Linked DNA regions of Homo sapiens: all the other regions are linked to region 2. The links are contacts of gene promoters, found by promoter capture Hi-C in blood cells and fetal thymus (Javierre and others, 2016). All regions are on one chromosome and are shown on one strand. The core of a region is centred on a gene start or on the middle of the fragment in contact, and the rest is flanking DNA. Distances in the headings are between cores, read along the strand shown. Region 1 overlaps CACNG2 (calcium voltage-gated channel auxiliary subunit gamma 2). Region 2 holds the start of LL22NC01-81G9.3 (a long non-coding RNA gene). Region 3 overlaps CACNG2 (calcium voltage-gated channel auxiliary subunit gamma 2). Region 4 overlaps CACNG2 (calcium voltage-gated channel auxiliary subunit gamma 2). Region 5 overlaps CACNG2 (calcium voltage-gated channel auxiliary subunit gamma 2).

What was found. The method cuts DNA at HindIII sites, captures the fragments that hold promoters and counts their contacts. A CHiCAGO score of 5 or more calls a contact.
Region 1: a contact is called between a fragment that was not itself captured here and the fragment with the promoter of LL22NC01-81G9.3 in region 2, in 1 of 17 cell types (endothelial precursors). The highest score is 5.4, in endothelial precursors.
Region 3: a contact is called between a fragment that was not itself captured here and the fragment with the promoter of LL22NC01-81G9.3 in region 2, in 1 of 17 cell types (endothelial precursors). The highest score is 6.8, in endothelial precursors.
Region 4: a fragment that was not itself captured here is called in contact with the fragment with the promoter of LL22NC01-81G9.3 in region 2 in 1 of 17 cell types (endothelial precursors); the score reaches 6.3 in endothelial precursors.
Region 5: a fragment that was not itself captured here is called in contact with the fragment with the promoter of LL22NC01-81G9.3 in region 2 in 1 of 17 cell types (endothelial precursors); the score reaches 5.0 in endothelial precursors.

The regions. Positions count from the first base shown.
Region 1 is chr22:36,595,280-36,597,979 of GRCh38, forward strand. All of the region lies in intron 1 of CACNG2 (calcium voltage-gated channel auxiliary subunit gamma 2), which reads right to left. Among named protein-coding and RNA genes, the nearest start is that of EIF3D, 67 kb to the left of the region's middle. The HindIII fragment of the contact is 7,781 bases long and covers 1-2,700 here.
Region 2 is chr22:36,963,892-36,966,591 of GRCh38, forward strand. LL22NC01-81G9.3 (a long non-coding RNA gene) reads left to right here and starts at 1,357. Exons shown (of 4, transcript NR_038954.1): 1 at 1,357-1,622; 2 at 2,499-2,616. The HindIII fragment of the contact is 1,620 bases long and covers 1,214-2,700 here.
Region 3 is chr22:36,559,417-36,562,116 of GRCh38, forward strand. CACNG2 (calcium voltage-gated channel auxiliary subunit gamma 2) reads right to left here. Exons shown (of 4, transcript NM_006078.5): 4 at 1,441-2,700. Among named protein-coding and RNA genes, the nearest start is that of EIF3D, 32 kb to the left of the region's middle. The HindIII fragment of the contact is 8,480 bases long and covers 1-2,700 here.
Region 4 is chr22:36,576,482-36,579,181 of GRCh38, forward strand. All of the region lies in intron 2 of CACNG2 (calcium voltage-gated channel auxiliary subunit gamma 2), which reads right to left. Among named protein-coding and RNA genes, the nearest start is that of EIF3D, 49 kb to the left of the region's middle. The HindIII fragment of the contact is 7,086 bases long and covers 1-2,700 here.
Region 5 is chr22:36,686,096-36,688,795 of GRCh38, forward strand. All of the region lies in intron 1 of CACNG2 (calcium voltage-gated channel auxiliary subunit gamma 2), which reads right to left. Among named protein-coding and RNA genes, the nearest start is that of CACNG2, 16 kb to the right of the region's middle. The HindIII fragment of the contact is 4,590 bases long and covers 1-2,700 here.

The DNA of each region.
Region 1 (2,700 bases), core at 113-2,612, 370 kb before region 2:
AACAGGACTTGAGAGAGGGCCCGAAGCCAGCAGTGTGCGGGCCGGCTCGCCCCTGCTCAAGGGAGCTCATCACCAGTGTCTTCCCAGCTCTCGTTAGCAGTTTGAAATCAGCCGTGGTAGGTGTATTCACACCATGGGAACCCACGGCAAATGCTACAAACCAAGTTCCCCACCTCCAGCCCAGGGAGCTGATTGTTAAACATGTACCAGCACACCACTGGATGAAGGGTGATCCTATGTGAGGAGTCAGCTGGTACAAAGACGTGACAAATTGGTGGGATTGGAGATTTGCAAAAGGACTGGTCCCATCAGAGGGCTGGGTGGGTGAGGGTGAGGGTGAGGGTGGGTGATGGCTGGAGTGGAGTGCAGGGGTCTCACTGCCCGCTGTCCCCTCAGGCATTGGCTTTGAGCTTCCAGAGGAAAGGGGATGCAGGGAAGACTCTCCCACCATGAACTATAAAGGGTTATTCAGCTAAGGGGCTCAACAACCATGACTCTCCATGGAACCTCCATCCCAGAAGAGTGGCAGTGCCCCACCAACCGCCAGGCTGAGTGAGTTCAGGCCCCGCTGAGGCGGAAAGGCCAAGGGCTGTGCCGTGGGCTGGCACAGCTCTGGCTCAAGGAGTTTACCATGTCAGGCTGGGAATTGCAGCTTGCAGGTATTAAGTAGTTTAAGAGGAGGTTTCATCAGCTTTGTAAAAAGCACATTAATATCTCACACCAACTGCTGTCTTGTTTCTTTAGATACAATAAGCTCCTCATAAACCTGGTCATTAGGGGCTGAACAGACTCTGTTTTATTTTCCACATATTCATGAGAAGCTGAAAGAGCAGCTCTGGAGCCAGGAGGGGACACGGTGGAGCGAGCTGAGGCGTGGGGAGGAGGCTGTCTGAGTAATTTTTTAAGTGAAGCAAAGGAAGGGTTTAGTGGGAGCTGCTTTCTCTGTGTTTTCAACCTTTGCTGCTCCTGGCTTTTTGCTTTCCTGGCAATACCTCCCTGACGGCAGGGATTCGGGAGGCCTCAGGGAGGGTGGGCCATGCCTGGCTTGTTTCTGGCTGGAACCCCAGCCCCCTGGGGCACAGCGCAGCCACCAGCTTGGGTTGGATGGTTTGCAACAACAGAACGTGTGGCATCCTATGAGTTTGATCGTTCTCTCGTTCGTTCATTCATTCTTTCAGTGGGTAGTTTCTTTCTTTTTTTGTTTTTTGGGAAGGAGGGAGGGGAGGAAGAGCTAGGGGTCAAGAAGGGAGAGGGCAGTCTCAGTGGGTAGTTTCGAATGCCTACTGTGTGCTAGGCACTGGGCAGGGTGAGATGAAGTAAGTGGTCTGTCCTGCCTGCCTGCCATGAATTTGCTCCTTCCATTGGCTCTGAGCTCCCACTTCACTGAAGTCCCCAGCACTCAGGAGCTGACCACAATGAACAATTGCTCATCCAACTTTCAGTTGCATCCTGTCCTGGCTCTTGTCTCCATAGCTACCTCTTCAGTTCTTTTTTTTGAGACAGGGTCTCTCTCTGTTGCCCAGGCTGGAGTGCAGGGGTGTGATCATGGCTCGCTGCAGCCTTGACCTTCTGGGCTCAAGAGATCCTCCCACCTCAGCCTCCCGGGTAGCTGTGACTACAGGCATGTGCCCAGCTAATTTTTGAATTTTTTTTGTAGAGATGGGGTCTCGCCATGTTGCCTAGGCTGTTCTTGAACTCCTGGGCTCAAGCGATCCGCCCTCCTCAGCCACTCAGAGTTCCTTCTTTAGTTGTTGTTGTTTTGAGATAGAGTCTCTCTCTGTTGCTCAGGCAGGAGTGCAATGGCACGATCTCAGCTCACTGCAACCTCCGCCTCCCAGGTTCAAGCAATTCTCCTGCCTCAGCCTCCCAAGTAGCTGGGATTACAGGCATCAGCCATCACTCCTGGCGAATTTTTTGTATTTTTAGTAGAGGTGGGGTTTCGCCATGTTGGCCAGGCTGGTCTTGAGCTCATGACCTCAGGTAATCCACCCACCTCGGCCTCCCAAAGTGCTGGGATTACAGGCATGACCCACTGTGCCAGGCCCCTTTAGTTCTTCACATGTGATTTGGGGGAGGAGATTGGGCTCCAGAGTTAGAAAGATTTGGCTTCTAAGCCTGGCTCTGTTACCTAGTAGCTGTGTGAATTTGAGCAAGTTATGTGACCTCTCTGTGCCTCAGTTTCCTTTGCTGTAAGAAGGCAATATCAGTCCTCACCGAGGGGGTAAGGGGATTAACTTTGAAGACTCGATGAAATAACAGAAGTGAAGGGCCCCAGTGCAGTTCTTAACCCAGAACAGATACTCAACAATGTAGGTCCTCCTTCTTTTTCTTCTCTTTCAAATGGCACCTCTTTCAGGAGGCCTTTCTTGATTGCCCTTAGCTGGGAAGACTCTTTCCTCTCCTACGCTCCTATGCAGTGCTTTTCAGCATTTTAATGGGCATGGGAAGCCCCTGGGGATCACGTTAAGCCAGGTTCAGATTCGGTGACTCTCAGTGGCCTGAGACTCTGTATTTCTCATGAGCTTGCAGGAAGTGCCCACGCTGCCAGGCCCCAGTGGCGGGGGCCACACTTTGGGTTGGGTAGCGAGGCTGTCAAGCACCTTTTAGCTGCTTTGGTCATATTCTCTTTGTGTATTGTTGTTTGGGAACAAAGAGCTGCAAGTCTGTAAGCTCCTCAAGGGCAGAATTTCTTCTAGAGGA
Region 2 (2,700 bases), core at 107-2,606:
AAGAGCCTGCGGGGTTATATGCCTGCTGCGCATGTCATTTAGGGAGTGGAATTTCAATTGACTTCCGTTTTTCCTTTTTGTAAAACACTGTTTGTAATTTTACCACAAATGCACATTTATGTAATAAAAGCATAATTATAATGTTCATTTAAAATGATTTTTTCCATCTAATTCACATTCACTTAGCAGTTTAAAAAGCATAAGATATGTTTACTGCAAATTGCATCTGAAATGCTTCCCTATGTTTGAGAATGAAGTTTCAGCTAGAACAGTGACTCCTGAGATGTACTCTGCTCAGGTGTTTCCAAACTTGGTGACCACAGTCCCTCTCATCCTGCATGCTCCTCCACCTTCTGACTTTGCAGCTCCTCCTATAAGGATGTGGAATCTCTTTCCCCTCCCCTTGGGTCTGGGCCTCCTTGTGACTTCCTTTGGCCAGTAGAAGGCAGTGGGGGTGAAGCTATATGATTTCTGAGACTAGGCCTTAAGAGGCCTTGCAGCTTCTTTTGCTCTCTTAGAAGTCAGCCATGGTGTAAAGCAGTCCAGGCTCTCCTACTGTAGAGGCCATGTGGAGACAGAAACCCTGGAGGATGGGAAGCCATGTGGAGGGGAATAAGCCAGTGAAGCCCTCTCTCACTCCACCCTCGTCAAGCTCCCAGCTAAATGCAGCCACATGAATGACCTCACCTGCTTTGTGGAGCAGAAGAACCACCCAGGTGAGCCTAGCCAACCCACAGAATGGTGACAAATAATAAATGGTTGTTGTTTTCAGCCATTAAGCTTGGGAGGTGGTTTGTTAGGCAGCAGTCAATCATTTGTTCTTATGACAGACATTTGTTTGCTGGTTAGATTGGATGTAACCTGGGATCACATGATCACACATTCACAATGTCAGAAATGTCCCCAACAACAGACACTTGGCAATTTGGAATTAATAAACCCAGCTTCAGAGAATCCCTGTTTCCCAGTCACTGTTTCTCAACTTTCCTACACTGCCACCAAGTATGAGCCAGCGTCTATCCCTCTCACATTCCTCACCCCATTAATAGACTCCCTGTTTTTCTTGTATCTCGTTAATTTCTGGTATGTTTCCTAGGACCTGAAAACATAACCAACTGTCTTTCATCTTAAAAAAAAAAACTCCCCCTTCCCTCACCCCAATCAAGTATCCACCTTAGGCTTCCATACCATCTCTTTCTCCTCTTTCTAATCAAGCTTTTCCAAAAAGCTGTCTTCATATTCCCATTTCCTATTCACTCCTCTCTCTATTTATTATGACCTGGCTTTAGAATGGTCTTCCGCCAGCATCACAGAGGAGCTCCACATCACATAACCAGATGGATTCACCCCTGCCTTGACCTCTCAGACACAACACCAGCACCATGGCCACTCCTAGAGCCTTAAAAGTCTCTCCATTTTTATGCCTCCCACCACACTCTGCTTTCTCCTTCCCGCTCTGACTTTCCCTTCTCTGTTCCCCTCCTGGCCTCCCGAGCACCTCAGCCAGGCCCTTAGGCACCAGTGTCCTCAGGGGTCTCCAGGGCTCCTCTTCTCATCCCGGTCTACGTGCTCTGCTTTCAAGTTTGCAGGCTCTCTCAGGTTTTACCTAAAGGTTTTCCTAAGTAAGTGTTCTTCCCCCAAACCTAAGAGCTATGAATTCAATGACCTATAGAACCTCTTTCCTTGTATGTTCCAGAGACGAGATACCTCAAGCTCCACGTGCCAGAATGTGACTCTTTGGCCACCCCCCAGCCCCCTATCCCCTACTCCCAGTGACTTTGTCTCTTGTAAGAGGCCTTGCCCTAGGCCACTGGTTCTGCTAAGGCCAGAGAAATGCCCACACACATGGTTGCTTATGGGAAGGGGTCATCTGAGCCAAAAATGGGGAATAGAGGCAGCTGCATGCCTTGAGCCACACTTGCAGAATCTGCCTGTCCAGGCCTCTCTTGTTCTCAGTGGTGACCTGTCTGCCTCCTGTTCCTGGGTCTTCCTCTTTCTGTGACTGAGACACCCTCCCCCACTGCCCGGCTGGAGGCTCAGCTCCATCCTCAGCTCCAGGACCAGCCCTGACCCGGGGAAGGAGGGGTTCACAGGGTCACAGTTGTGCCTATACTTCCTTGAACCTCTGTCCTCATCCCTGGGCCCACCCTTGCTTCTGAGAGCTGGGCCACCCTGTGTGGCCTCTGACAACTGAGTTCCTGCCTTCTTCCCCATGCTGGAGTTTGTTCTACAAAGCTCAGATTGGAGACCTTGTTGTTCTTGATTACAACTTACTTCTCTGTTTCCCTACCTCTACAGATGTGGTTTCTAGACAGTTTTCAATTATATTGATGAGTAAAAAATTTTTAAAAACAGAAAGAAAAATACAACTTTATTTTTAAATAAAAAAGAAAATATCATTTACTATCAACATCATTTTCTACTTTAAAAAAAAGACATTTTATTTTATTTTATTTTATTTTATTTTACTTTATTTTATTTTTTGTTTTTTGAGACAGAGTCTCACTCTGTTGCCCAGGCTGGAGTGCAGTGGCATGATCTCAGCTCACCACAACCTCCCCCTCCCAGGTTCAAGCAATTCTCGTGCCTCAGCATCCCGAGTAGCTGGGATTACAGGTGTGTGCCACCACGCGCAGCTAATTTTTGTATTTTTAGTAGAGATAGGGTTTCACCATGTTGGCCAGGCTGGTAAAAAGGGAC
Region 3 (2,700 bases), core at 142-2,641, 400 kb before region 2:
AACCTAACATTTTAGTTTGTCACAAGGACATATTTGCCAGGACAGAGGATAGACCATATTTTTAAATTTTATTTTATATTTTATTTTAATTTTTTTTGAGATAGAGTCTCGCTCTGTCACCCAGGCTGGAGTGCAGTGGCGCGATCTCGGCTCACTGTAACCTCTGCCTCCCGGGTTCAAGCAATTCTCTGCCTCAGTCTACCGAGTAGCTGGGATTGCAGGCGCCCACCACCACGCTCGGCTAATTTTTGTGTTTTTAGTAGAGACGGGATTTCATCATCTCGGCCAGGCCGGTCTTGAACTCCTGACCTCATGATCCACCTTCCTCGGCCTCCCAAAGTGCTGGGATTACAGGGGTGAGCCACCTCGCCTGGCTGATAGACCATTTTTTAAGGTCGTTAGTTCGATGTGCAGCTGTTAAATCTTCAGACTTAAGTTATGGAGAGTGAGCCTCCCTTTCTACTCTTGCCCTGGACCCCACAAGTGTTAGGGGTGAGCCTGGAGAGAGAGATAATTGAGATTGGTGGGGGCTTGGTGGTGTGGCCCCAGCAGACTGAGGCTGAGTTGAACAGGGAGTTTTGAACATTGGACCCTTCTAGAGTAGACTTTTCCGGGCCACGTCATACAGGGCTTACCTTCTCTTAGGTCTGTGCGGTGTGTAGGTGTCATCTGCTTGCCATCTCCTTTCTCTGGAGCCCCAGGAGAGCTGTACAGTGAGTATGCTTCCCCAACACATCTTAGATAGCACTGTTATCTTAGACAGCTGTTTTGGGGCATGACAGGTCATCCTTCCAATGGGGCCTTTCTCTGATGTCAAAGGTCAAATCCTCCTGTTAGCATTCCATCTTGTCTTTCTCATCTCTTCAAGTTAAGAGAGTCCCAGGGACCCTCCCCATTCTTCTGCCACTCCATGGCTCTCCTCTTCCTGAGAAGCACCCCTCTGCAGGGAGCCCCCTGAGTAAACTGGTAGGGTCATGTCCATTCCAAACTGCACAATTTCACGGGGGAAAATGGAAACCCTGGAGTGTAACTGGGATGTTGAGTGGGGCTGCTTTATTCTAAAAGATAAAACTCAAGGACGTCATGCTCTCTGTCTTCAAATATCTGAGGGGCTGTCATGCTGAAAAGGGAAGGGATTTATTCAGTGTTGTTGGAGTGTGAAGGAAGAGGTGGATTAAAATTCAGTGTGCAGAGAAGACTTTTGCCAAAGAGTGCTGCTTAGCACTGGCTGGTGCTATCTTTGGAGGGGGTGAGCCCGCTGTCACTGGAGGCGTGCAAGTATCCCTAAAGGATATTTAATAGGGAACTCATGATCTAGAGAGTGGGGGGACACCCTACTGTACAGCATCTAAACCTCTCATCCCCAATAATCTGTAGCTTTAGGATTGTTTTAAATAGGATGCCAGGAGTTGGGAAAGGAATTAAAGAAATTCACTGAAGTGAGGACCAAGCTATAAAAAAAAAAAATCTTTATTTCATGTACCAGGATTTTTTTTTTCAGTTTTCTGCTTTTTAAAATTTTTTTTCTGTTAACAGTCTGAAAAAAAAAAAAAGGACTCACCAAGAAAATAAATGGAGGTTAGTTTCTTGAACTGGTCTGAGCTGGACATGAGCAATCATCCACACCCCTGGGCAGCAACGCCCTTGCAGTTCCGGTCCTGGCTCCTTCCCTCCGGACCCCCTAGCCCCTTCTCAGCCATGGCGATGTCACCCCACACCCCAGTGGCTTTCTTCAAGCACACCCAGAACCCAGGCCTTGCGCCATGGAAAGAAGCACTGATCGCCTTCCCAGACGCTCTGCCAGAATTCGGAGAACTGGAGCTAGTTTTTCTCTTCAGACAGTGCTCGCTTGGGTGCGGTTTTCTTGGGGACCCTCCCTTCTCCCTTCGCTCTCATCCTTGATCCCTTTAGGTCTGGAATCTGGTGGGATGGCGGGCAAGATTGGGGTGGGAGAGGGGTAGAGTTCAGTTTCTGCCCAGACTGAGGGCAACTTGGTTGTTGTTACCACACCTTGAATTGTCTCCCATTGTTCTGCCCCAGGGCCCATGACCTCCCCCTGTACTTCTGGGCTGGGCTGGCCGATGTTCTGCCCCTTGCTGACCTGGGAAAATAACTTTCCTTTCCCAGGCAAAAGACAGGAAAGGCAGGTGAGATGTGCAAGCTCAAAAAGCCTTACTAGCCATTCTCTAGAACTCCCCAGAGAGCTCAACCTCAGGAAATGCCGGTGTCAAGAAAAATGCAAACCGGGGGAGACTCGCAGGCAGAGGCAGGGGGGCCTCACCTTGACCTTCAGTCACCTGGGAGTAACTTGCAGACTGTTCTGAAATTTCCAGCTCAGGAAAGCTGTTGGATTTCTGTCAGTCTGAACTGGCCCTTGTCACTCTGGGGAAGAAAGGGGAGAAACACAGGATGCCCTTGACCTTTAGTCTGTGGTGCAAGTTTAACTTTTGGGGTTGGTCCTTACACTGGGATGGAACTGCTAAAATTTTCCTCTCCATTCCCTCAGCCTTGAGCCCTCCCAGTAAACCTCAGAGGATCCTCTTTTTCACAGACCCCCAAAGACACTGGGGAAGCCCTGGTGGCAGAGCTCTTCTCCCAAGGAAGCCTCTTTAACTCTCCATGATCGCAGCAAGGGGACACAAAGTGAAGAAGGGCTTTGGGGACCCCTGCGTCTTTCCCCTCTTTGCCTGAACAGCTTTA
Region 4 (2,700 bases), core at 168-2,667, 390 kb before region 2:
TAACTCATGTAACCAAACACCACCTGTTCCCCAACAACCTCTGGAAATAAAAAATTAAAAAAAAAAACACTCCAAAATGCCTCTGTGTGTGCGTGTGTGTGTGTGTGTGTATGTGTGTGTGTGTGTGAGAGAGAGAGAGTCAGAAAGACCTCAAAGAAGAAAGAGGAGAACAAAGATGGTGGGTGAGAAATAGAAAGAGAAGTCAAACGCTATGGTTTGGAGCATGGGTTCCAGATGCAGCCCGCTTGGGGTCTCCTCCTGGACCCCCACTGGCTCTGTAGCCTCTGTGCCTTGCCTTTCCCATCTGTGTGATGGGGACACTGATCATCTCACCCTCATAGGGTGGTTGTGAAGATGAATTAAGATAATGTTTCAAGTGTCAGGCCTGGCACATCGTCAAGTGTTCAATGAACGTGTGCTATATATAATAGCACATGAAAAGCATTTTGAGAGCCCAGGGAGCTAACTTGGGGAGTACCATCTGTGCAGGATGCCGGATACATCCCTGCTTCCTGCTGTCAGTAGAGATTGGTGACCAGTCGCACAGGCTCAGGAGAAAGGCTGCCGGAGTCCATCTTCCTAGCTGTGACCTGGTCCCCCGGGGGCCTCTGCTGCCCCCTCTGCCATATGGAGATCACAAGCACACTTAGCTCACAGGGTGCTATGAGGAGTAACTGAGTACACACACTTGAAGCAATGAGAATAATGTCTGGTATGCGAGGAGCACCAGCAAATCGTGCTCATCATTCCAGCGGAGCAAATTGTTGCTGTCTCTCACCGGGCTTTGGGTTACTGAGGCTGCTATTTATTAAAGTGTGGGTTGTGACTCATTACTAGGTCATGAAATCGGTGTAGTGGTAGCAACCAGCCCTTAAAGAAATGAACCGGGGCCGGGCGCGGTGGTTCACACCTGTAATCCCAGCACTTTGGGAGGCCGAGGCGGGTGGATCACGAGGTCAAGAGATCGAGACCATCCTGGCCAACATGGTGAAACCCGGTCTCTACTAAAAATACAAAAATGAGCCAGGCGTGGTGGCGCAGGCCCGTAGTCCCACCTACTTGGGAGGCTGAGGCAGGAGACTCGCTTGAACCGGGGAGGCGGAGGTTGCAGTGAGCCGAGATCATGCCACCGCGCTCCAGTCTGGCGACAGAGTGAGACTCCGTCTTGGAAAAAAAAAAAAAAAAAAAAGAAATGAACTAGGACAGAATAGAAACTGCCGGCCAGTGTGCGTTCAGGAAGGCTGGGTGGCTTTTGGGGAACATTTTGCTCTGGTTCTGCAGATGTGAGTGAGTACAAGTGGCAGCTTAGATGTTTCCTAACCATGGGGTGGGGTCACAATAGTTTTAGCCGCACTGGTTGTGATGACTTCTGGAGGGGATGTCTCTCAGAAGCCCCCTCATGGCAATGTTTTCTAGAAGGGGCTGAGAGCCCTGGGCAGTGGACAGGTAGCAGGATAATGGACCTGGATAATGCTCCCAGGGTGCAGTCCCAGAAAGTGTGCCGGGCTGGGGCAGGTCATTTTCCCTCTTGGGCCTCCGTTTTTCCCTCATCTGTAAAATGGGAGGGTGGGGCTGGGTGATCCTAAGCTAGGATGATGGGCTGGGTGCGGTAGCTCACACCTGTCATCCCAGCACTTTGGGAGGCCAAGGCTGGCAGATCACTTGAGGTGAGGAGTTTGAGACCAACCTGGCCAACATGGTGAAACCCCGTCTCTACTAAAAAAAAATACAAAAAATTAGCTGGGTGTGATGGCGTGCACCTGTAATCCCAGCTACTGAGACAGAAGAATTGCTTGAACCCAGGAGGCGGAGGTTGCAGTGAGCCGAGATGGCACCACTGCACTCCAGCCTGGGTGACAGAGCGAGACTCAATCTCAAAAAAAAAAAAAAAGCCGGAATGATGGATCATTACACTTCTAAAACTCTAGGCGGGTGAAGCCTGGTGGACGCCCCTCATGCTGTTCCACTGGGGCTCTGGGGAGACCTAAAAAAGCACTGTTCACGGGAGGCTCAGAGAAGTTGTGTAACTTGCCAAAGGTCACAGAGTGGAGCACCCCTTGAATTCAGGCCCTTTTATTCTAAGTAACAACCTCGGGTTTTGACACCTGGTCTCCCCACACTTCCCTGGCTCATGTTCCCTGGTGGGACTGGTGGAGGTGGGGAGAGAGGGGCAATGGGAAGGAGGGACACTGTCTGAGGCCAGGAAGGGTGGCTCTGGCCCAGGTTGACACCCAATATCCTCCTCTGACCTCATTCTGGGAAGAGGGTGAACATGCCAGCTGCCCTAGGGCGGGCGGTACCTTGTTTATTCACTTAGCAAACCTCTCCTGGGTCTGATCCTGGGAAAGGCCCTGTGCTGGAGGGGGTGGATGGGTGGGAGGAGGACACTCTATTTGCAGCCACTCCTTGTGGTGTCCTCAAGCTGTTCACAGTCCGTGGGGAGAAGATTCCGTAACAGAAACCAAGATGAAACAGACCGGCAATAGAGTGGTCACCTCCCCGCACAGCAGCCTCGTCCTACATTCCCAGCCTCAGAGAAGGGCAGTAATGTTTGCCCCATCTGCCAGCCAGAACTCCTCGCCATCCACAAGACCTCTCTCTTACTTCTCCCATCCAGGCTGTCAGTAAAAGCTGCCAGCTCGACTGGGCATGATAGCTCACACCTGTAATCCCAGCACTTTGGGAAGCCGAGGTGGGTGG
Region 5 (2,700 bases), core at 8-2,507, 280 kb before region 2:
ACTGGCAGAGGCTGCAAATGTCTGAGGGTGGAGGCTCTTTGGCTTTGAGGCTGGCAGGAGAAAGGGGAGAGTGGCCACCACTCCTGGCTTGGATGGGCCCCTGTCTAATCCCTTCACCATGTCAAAACGGACACCAGGGCATACCAAGACAACAGCAACAGCTCGCTGCCACAACCCTCCTCAGATATAAAGGCTCATCTCTAAGGAGATGACCCTGTCACAGAGCAAGTCCAGAAGAAGGAAAAACCTCCGTTTCTTGGTGCTGTTTCAGGCTTCTCTTCGGTCAAATCCTGCAGCTCTTTCATGCGGAAGGGCCCTTGGATTTGATGACTTTGTGGGAGAGATAGGGGAGCCCGGAGCTCCCCCAAGGGTATCAGCTGGCATGTAAGAGGGAGGAAGGCGGATAAACAGACTCAGGCATGCAATGGGCCTGCCTCCCAGAGCTGGGGATTCTATCCACCCTCAAAGAGGCAGCAGCAGAGGCTGTGACCCGGAGGGAATATTGTGGTGGTGGAATGGCACAGTGCCTTCCGTCCCACAAGCATGAGTGAGCTGCTACTACGTGCCAGGCACCGTGTCAGGTGCTGGAGACCCCACACTACTTGCTGCCTGGGACCCGGGCACAGGGGTTCTAGTCCCTGCACTGCCACTTGCTGACTCCGTGGCATGACCAAGTCCCTTCCTTTTTGGGCCTCATGTTCTTCAAAGTCAAGGTGAAGATTTGGACTAGATGAGCCCTGTGGAGTCGCCGCTAGTCAACTTCCCTCTCTCATTTTCCCATAGCAACAGAAACTCGAGTTTTCCTCCAGGCATGTGGCCACCTAGAATAAAGGTTATCTTTTCCAGATTTCCCTATAGCTAATGTGTGGTCACGTAGCAAACTTCTGCCCAATGAAACTAAGGCAAAAATGTTGTGTGATACCTTCTAGGAAGCCTTCTCAGGAGCCAGGTGACAGGTGCCCTTTGCCCTTGTTTTTTTGTGCCATCCTCCACCTTGATCCATGGGATGTGAAGGCAGTGGCTGGAGCTCTGGCAGCCCTACTTGACTGTGAGGTTGAAGGACCCACTGTGGGGATGATGGAGTGGGGAGCGAGCAGGGGTCTGCATTGTTAACCGGTTTGTGGAGCCTCCAGGCCAGCCTTGTAGTTTACAGCCCCAGATTTGTTTACTTGAAAGAGAATAAACTTTTTGTTTTGTTTAAGACACTGCTCATTTAATTTTTCTGTTACTTATCATCAAATCTAATCTTTCTTGATATAATCTCTAAAAATCTCTTCCAGGTGTACTATTCCAAGGTTGTGACACTAGGTTGTGAACAAACTCTTTGTCTTATTTAAACCACTGTTAGTTTTATTTTTCTGTGGCTTATTGTCAAATTGAATCCTTCCTGGTACAAGCTCTAAAGCCTTTTCCAGGTGTGCTGTTCTGAGCTTGTGGCATTAGGGGAATTCTTTGGGTAGACATTCCCTGTGGTCGGCAGAATAACAGCCTCCCAAAGATGTCCACATCCCAATTCCTGTAACCCGTGAGTGCGCCACATTGCATGGGAAAGGGGATTAAGGTTGCAGATGGAATTAAGGCTGCTAATCAGCGGACTGTAAGAGAGGGAGATTATCCTGGATTATCTGGGTGGGCACGTGGTAATCCCCAGGGCCCTTAGGTGTGAGGGGGGAAGCAGGAGAATCACGAGAAGGACTCTGTTCAACAACTCTGGCTTTAAAGATAGAGGAAGTGGCTACAGGCCAGGGAAGGAGGCAGCCTGTAGGAGCTAGAAATGGCCAGCAAGTAGATTCTTCCAAGAGCCTCCGGAAGGAATGCAGCCCTGCCCACACCTTGGTTCTAGCCCAGTGAGACCCAGGTTAGACTTCCAACATCCAGAACCATCAGATAATAGGTTTTTGTTGTTTTAAGCACTAAGTTCGTGTAATTTATTACAGCAGCAATAGGAAACATACACTCCCACTGGTATATAATGGGTAAAATGAGAATCCTAACACCCATGTTACAGAGTGCAGTGCAGCCAGGGAAGGTGACAGACACATGGTCCTCAGCCCAGGGCCCAGCACACAGGAGACTCTCAAACAGTAGCTCTCGGGGAAAATCACTCTTTCTTCTTATATCTCTGGTCACCTCATTTAACCTTAAATGATAATGTTAGCTGAAATGGGCTGGGTGCAGTGGCTCACGCCCTGTAATCCCAGCACTTTGGGAGATGGAGGTGAGAGGATCGATTGAGCCCAGAAATTTGAGACCAGGCTTGACAACACAGCAAGGTCCCATCTCTTAAAAAAAAAATTAGCTCAGTGTGGTAGTGCACACTTGTAGTCCCAGCTACTCATGATGCTGAGGTGGGAGGATTGCTTGAACCCAACAGTTTGAGGCTGCAGTGAGCCATGATTGCACCACTGCATTACAGCCTGGGCGACAGAGTGAGACCCTGTCTCAAAAAAAAAAAAAAAAAAAAAGTAGCTGAAATGAAATGGACTGATAGAGGTGCTGGGACTGAACTAGTGGCTTTCCCAGATCTATGCACTCTGAATTTATTTGGTGCCTGGGAAGAAGGTGGTTATCCTCATGGTAGAGGCAAAGAAACAGGCCCAGCCCGCCAGTGGCAGGGGTGGGATTTAGATCCTCATCTGCCAGAACCTGCTGGCCATGCTCTGAAGCCTTGCTTCTCAAACTGTGGTCTGCAGACCTGTG